Regions from separate parts of the Homo sapiens genome. Here region 1 is linked to region 2. Evidence: promoter capture Hi-C in human tissues and cell types (Jung and others, 2019). All regions are on one chromosome and are shown on one strand. The core of a region is centred on a gene start or on the middle of the fragment in contact, and the rest is flanking DNA. Distances in the headings are between cores, read along the strand shown.

The links. The method cuts DNA at HindIII sites, captures the fragments that hold promoters and counts their contacts. A contact is called where the count stands out against the background at its distance.
Region 1: a fragment that was not itself captured here is called in contact with the fragment with the promoter of SKA3 in region 2 in 1 of the 25 tissues and cell types used here (spleen).

What each region holds. Positions count from the first base shown.
Region 1 is chr13:20,784,841-20,787,540 of GRCh38, forward strand. It overlaps XPO4 (exportin 4), which reads right to left. Exons shown (of 23, transcript NM_022459.5): 21 at 2,641-2,700; 22 at 2,125-2,217. Among named protein-coding and RNA genes, the nearest start is that of EEF1AKMT1, 12 kb to the left of the region's middle. The HindIII fragment of the contact is 3,118 bases long and covers 1-2,700 here.
Region 2 is chr13:21,175,236-21,177,935 of GRCh38, forward strand. SKA3 (spindle and kinetochore associated complex subunit 3) reads right to left here and starts at 1,317. Exons shown (of 9, transcript NM_145061.6): 1 at 1,140-1,317. The coding sequence starts at 1,242. It overlaps MRPL57 (mitochondrial ribosomal protein L57), which reads left to right and starts at 1,423. Exons shown (of 2, transcript NM_024026.5): 1 at 1,423-1,482; 2 at 1,677-2,700. The coding sequence starts at 1,682. The coding sequence ends at 1,990. RefSeq lists enhancers at 1-112, 835-1,557, 1,573-1,892. The HindIII fragment of the contact is 23,400 bases long and covers 1-2,700 here.

The DNA.
Region 1 (2,700 bases), core at 200-2,699, 390 kb before region 2:
GCTGAGATGGGAGATCGCTTGAGCCCAAGAGGTTGAGGCTGCAGTGAGCCATGGTTGCTCCACTGCACTCCAGCCTGGGCAACAGAGTGAGATCCTGTCTCACTGCAACCTCTGTTTCCTGGGTTCAAGTGATCCTCCTACCTCAGCCTCCTAAGAGCCTGGGACTACAGGCATGCACCACCATCCCTGGCTAATTTTTGAATTTTTAGTAGGGACAGGGTTCTGCAATGTTGAGCAGGCTGGTCTCAAGCTCCCAGCCTCAATCAATCCACCCACCTTGGTCTCCCAAAGTGCAAAAATTACAAGCATGAGCCACTGCACCTGGCATGCTGTAATTTTTCATTGGCTTCTTGGGATATCATGATAGACCAAAATGGTGAAACCAAATGTTAATTACATTTGGAAAAGAAGGATAAGGTGCAGCATCCCAATCCCCAACCATGGAGCCAGAGTGGCTCCCCTAATTGCCTTATCAAAGGGACAGTCCTGTTCACAGGGGACCAAGTATAATCTCCTATCATTTCCCTACTCATGAGAAATGGTAGAGGTGGCAAGGCATGGTGGCTCACACCTGTAATCCTAGGCACTTTGGGAGGCCGAGGCGAGTGGATTGCTTAAGTTCAGGAGTTCGATACAAGCCTGGGCAACATGGTGAAACTCCGTCTCTACAAAAAATAAGCCAGGTGTGGTGGTGCACACCTGTAGTCCCAGCTACTTGGGGAGCTGAGGCGGGAGGATTGCTTGAGGCCAGGAGGCCGAGGCAGGAGTTAGCAGTAATTGCACCACTGCACTCCAGCCTGGGTAATAATAAAGTGAGACCCTGTCTCAGAAAAAAAAAAAAAGCGAGATAGTAGAGCCTCTGGGGCCAGGCAGCAAGTATCATACTGGCCATTCCTGAAACCTGCTCTTTCCTGCAGTGTGTAAATATGTTAAAAGAGAGGGAGAGAGAGAAATAAAGGAAGAGAAGGAAGGAAGGAAGAAAGGAAGGGAGGAAGAGACAAGAGGGTGGAAGGGAACGGGGGAGGAAAGGAGGGAGGGAGGGAGGGAGAAAGAAAGAAAGAGGAGGGAGGAAGGAAGGAAGAAAGGAAAGAAAAGAAAAATGAAAGAAAAAGATAGAAAAAAGAAAAGAAAAAGAGAGGAAGGAAGGAAGGAAGGAAGGAAGGAAGGAAGGAAGGATCAGACAAGACGACTACCTTGCTAGTAAGCAACAAGTAAGACAAATGACAGAGAAAGGGCACAGATTTGAGAGCAGGTACCACCTGCAGGAAGTGGCAGCCTAGGGCAGAGAGCAAGAAATGAAGCCCCAGGGCACCTTCAGCTTAGGGCACAGATGTTACGGGAAGTCTAGAGAAAGGAGGTCTTTAAATAGTATGGAAGACCTCCTCTAAACCCTTTTTTAAAGATGGAAATAAAACGCCAAAGCTTCTTGGCCATGCTGGGAGGTATATATATATATACGTGTGTGTGTATATATATATATATATATATGTACCTTACATATATATGTGTGTATATATATGCATGGGAGAGGAAAAGGGGAAACAGAGGCAGCAAACTGTTCAATACGGTCCTTTTCATAAATTTCACAGGCACCTATTCGATCAGAAGTGGGGAGACAGGTAAGCTAGCCTAACTCTTCTATTAACCCCATTATCAGTGATGCTTCAGAATCTTTAAAAGATCAACAAAATGAAATAATATACTGTTTTCTATAATATGCAATAAAATACTGTCTTCCATACTGTCTGAAGGCAGACTCTTCCTTGTCTGCCATCCTGTCTCCCTTACAAAAAACCATGAGTTCTTCACACACCCATTATGTATTCCTCATTCCTAGCACAGTTGTTTAAGGACAGGCTTTGGGGCAGTGACCATTGCAAAGGATGGTTCATAATGGTGGAGGACAAAAAATAAATGCTTTGAACTGACAAACAGCTGTCAGATAAACACAAACTGACATGTGAAAGCTAATAAAGAAGCTAAGAAATACTTCCTCACTGAAACAGAACTGAAGCACTGAGTCACAGATCCTATAAGGGGGGATTAATGACCCACCATCTATCTCAACAATCTCTTTGCAAAATAGAATGAGAAGAGTCCCCTGAAAAGAGGCATGTCCAGTACCTGGTGCAAACACACCAACGTGTAGAAAGCTTCGCCAGCCGCAGTGGTCATCTCTGTGTTGTGCTTTTGCAAAACCAGCATATCAAAAACCAGCTGAAATTACATAAGACTTCTAAATAAAAACATAGGATGATCATATATCCTCCAGTCCCTCCCCAGTCCAAAAAAGAAGAAGAGAGGGTTGGTTGTTATTCTATTTATTAAATCAATCTGAAATTTTCCTTAATGTTTTAAAAAAAATACCTTACAGATATTGCTACTTGCTGTGGTATCTGAATAATCAACAATATCAAATTCCCTCAATGTGTACCACATCAATTTCCAAGAACACAAAAAATAGAGGATGAGAATGTGTCCATGAAGAGCTGATCTCCAGAAAAAAACAGTGAACAGGAAGTCATGGTTTCCTTGCCCCCGAAAGAATGGAAGCATTTCCTCATTTGAATGCAGAATTATGTGCACCGACCACACTTTTGAAAGTAGCTGATTTTCTGACCTACCGCACAGACATCTTACCTTAAGAAAGTGCCGTGTTGCTAGAAAAAGTGGTGAGTCTGTTTCTTGTGCTTTTGCACA
Region 2 (2,700 bases), core at 67-2,566:
CCAAAATGCTGGGATTACAGGCGTGTGCCACCGTGCACGGCCAAATCTTTTTTTCTTTTTGAGACGGACTCTTGCTCTGTCGCCGAGGCTGGAGTGCAGTGGCGGATCTCGGCTCACTGCAAGTTCCGCCTCCCGGGTTCACGCCATTCTCCTACCTCAGCCTCCCGAGTAGCTGGGACTACCGGCGCCCGCCACCACGCCCGGCTAATTTTTTGTATTTTTAGTAGAGACGGGGTTTCACCGTGTTAGCCAGAATGGTCTCGATCTCCTGACCTTGTGATCCGCCCGCCTCAGCCTCCCAAAGTGCTAGGATTACAGGCGTGAGCCACCGCGCCGGGCAGAAATAGACATTTTCAAGTGACTGGAGATCATTCATTATATAATTAAAGTAAAAGTAGTCTGCAGGGTGTAATATTTTAAAGCACATTACAATTATGACATTTATGAAATAATTCCAAAATCTGAACTACTTTTTCAACAATTTAAAAAATCTCTAATAAAAAGGGGAATGGTGAATTTTGCTTTATTTATATACACATATTTTTTTAAACCCCAGCACTGTTGAGTACTAGTGTTTGTGTTGGCAACATGGTTTAGCGGGAAAAACACAGAGGTTTACTGCAACTGTGGACCACGTGAGTGAGAAAAAAGTCACTATATGTGTAAAGTATTGTGTAAAGAACGTTAAATAGCTTGATTCTAAGAGAAACTGTTTAGGTTTACATGGTATTTTACTGACAAGCACACATATTGTATGTGACGAAAGCATATCACGTATAAATTAGTATATGTATTATGAGCTCAATCTGTTAATTTAGGTTCTTATTCTTAAGTGCTGCTGTCTCTGTTTATAACGTAATAGTGCTACTTTCATTATCTCAAGAGAGCCGTGGGGTTGTACATGGGTCTAAAACGGACACGCGACAAGGGTTCCTAGGAATAAACCATAAACAGGCCCGGGAGCTACGCTAACGCCAAACGCCGAGCAGTGAGACGCGCAGCACCCGCCCTGCGCCTCGGTGGCAGCCGTCCACGCCGTCAGTGCCTGGCGGTTCCCGTGGGACATACCGTCCACTCGCCACGCCCCTCCGCCCGCGGCGCACCCCACGCACCGTGCCCTGGCCGCCCGCCTCACGCACCGCTTTCCTCTCCGTCCAGCGCTCGCTGCAGCCGGGCCGTCTCGCAGTCCAGCGTGCTGGCCAGAGACCGCAGCTTCCCGCAGAAGCTCCGGATAGGGTCCATGCTGAGCACAGCGGGGAAGGACTCCAGGCGTACGCAGACCCCACCGCTCAGCTCACAGCCTCCCGCCACTAGTTTGAATCTCGGCGCCGGACGCGTCCTCGGCTCTGCGCAGGCGCAGTCCTCTCTCGCGAGAGCCGAAGTCTCTCGCCGAGGCCCCAGGAGACCCCGCGAGACGGGTGCGCTTACGCCACGGCGTCTGCTGGCGGCCGCGGAGACGCAGAGTCTTGAGCAGCGCGGCAGGTGAGTAGCTGTGCGAATTCGGTTCTCTAGGGAGCTCCTTCTTCGCCTGCTGGCCTTACCTGGGCTCCCCGCTTCTCTGGAGGGGAGGCGGTGCGGGAACTCCCGTAGGCGTGAGCTGGAGCGCGCGCCCGCTGCTCTCTCCAGGTCCGGCCGCGCCAGTTCGCCTCCGCAAAGCCCGTCCCTCTCTTCCGCAGGCACCATGTTCCTGACTGCGCTCCTCTGGCGCGGCCGCATTCCCGGCCGTCAGTGGATCGGGAAGCACCGGCGGCCGCGGTTCGTGTCGTTGCGCGCCAAGCAGAACATGATCCGCCGCCTGGAGATCGAGGCGGAGAACCATTACTGGCTGAGCATGCCCTACATGACCCGGGAGCAGGAGCGCGGCCACGCCGCGGTGCGCAGGAGGGAGGCCTTCGAGGCCATAAAGGCGGCCGCCACTTCCAAGTTCCCCCCGCATAGATTCATTGCGGACCAGCTCGACCATCTCAATGTCACCAAGAAATGGTCCTAATCCTGAGTCGTCACCCTTGGATTTTATGGATCACGGAGCTGACCATCTTTACCTGGTCCTGGAACTGAAAAACTGTAGCTTGTGTGAAAATGAGCCTTTGGACCAGTCTTTATTAAAACAAACAAACATGAGTAGTCTGCATATCGAATATCTAGAGCTCTAAACCCCCAATACTTAAAAGTCTAATTGCTGTCCTGTGGTTTCATTAGTCTGATAGGAAGATAGGGATTTCCTCAGTCACAGATGATATTTTGAAGGAAAGCTGCAATAAAGCCACAATGATTTGAGGTCTTTGCTTAAGTATGAGATACTTGATGGGGGCTTTATCATGCAACATTAGTTTGCTTACCTTAAGAATTGCCCAAAAATGAAAGAAAATATGAGCTTTTCAGTTAAACATACTCCTAAAAACATTTTCCGGGATTTTACTACTAAAATTGGACATTTAAGCGAAGTAAAAGAGGCCGGGTGCGGTGGCTCACGCCTGTAATCCCAACACTTTAGGAGTCCAAGGCGGGCGGATCACTTGAGGTCAGGAGTTCAAGACCAGCTTGGCCAAGGTGATAAAACCCGTCTCTACTAATACAAAAAAAATTAGCTGGGTATGTTGGTGCAGGCTTGCAATCCCAGCTACTTGGGACGCTGAGGTGGGAGGATCGCCTGAACCTCAGAGGCAGAGGTTGCAATGAAGCGGAGGTTGCAGTGAGCCG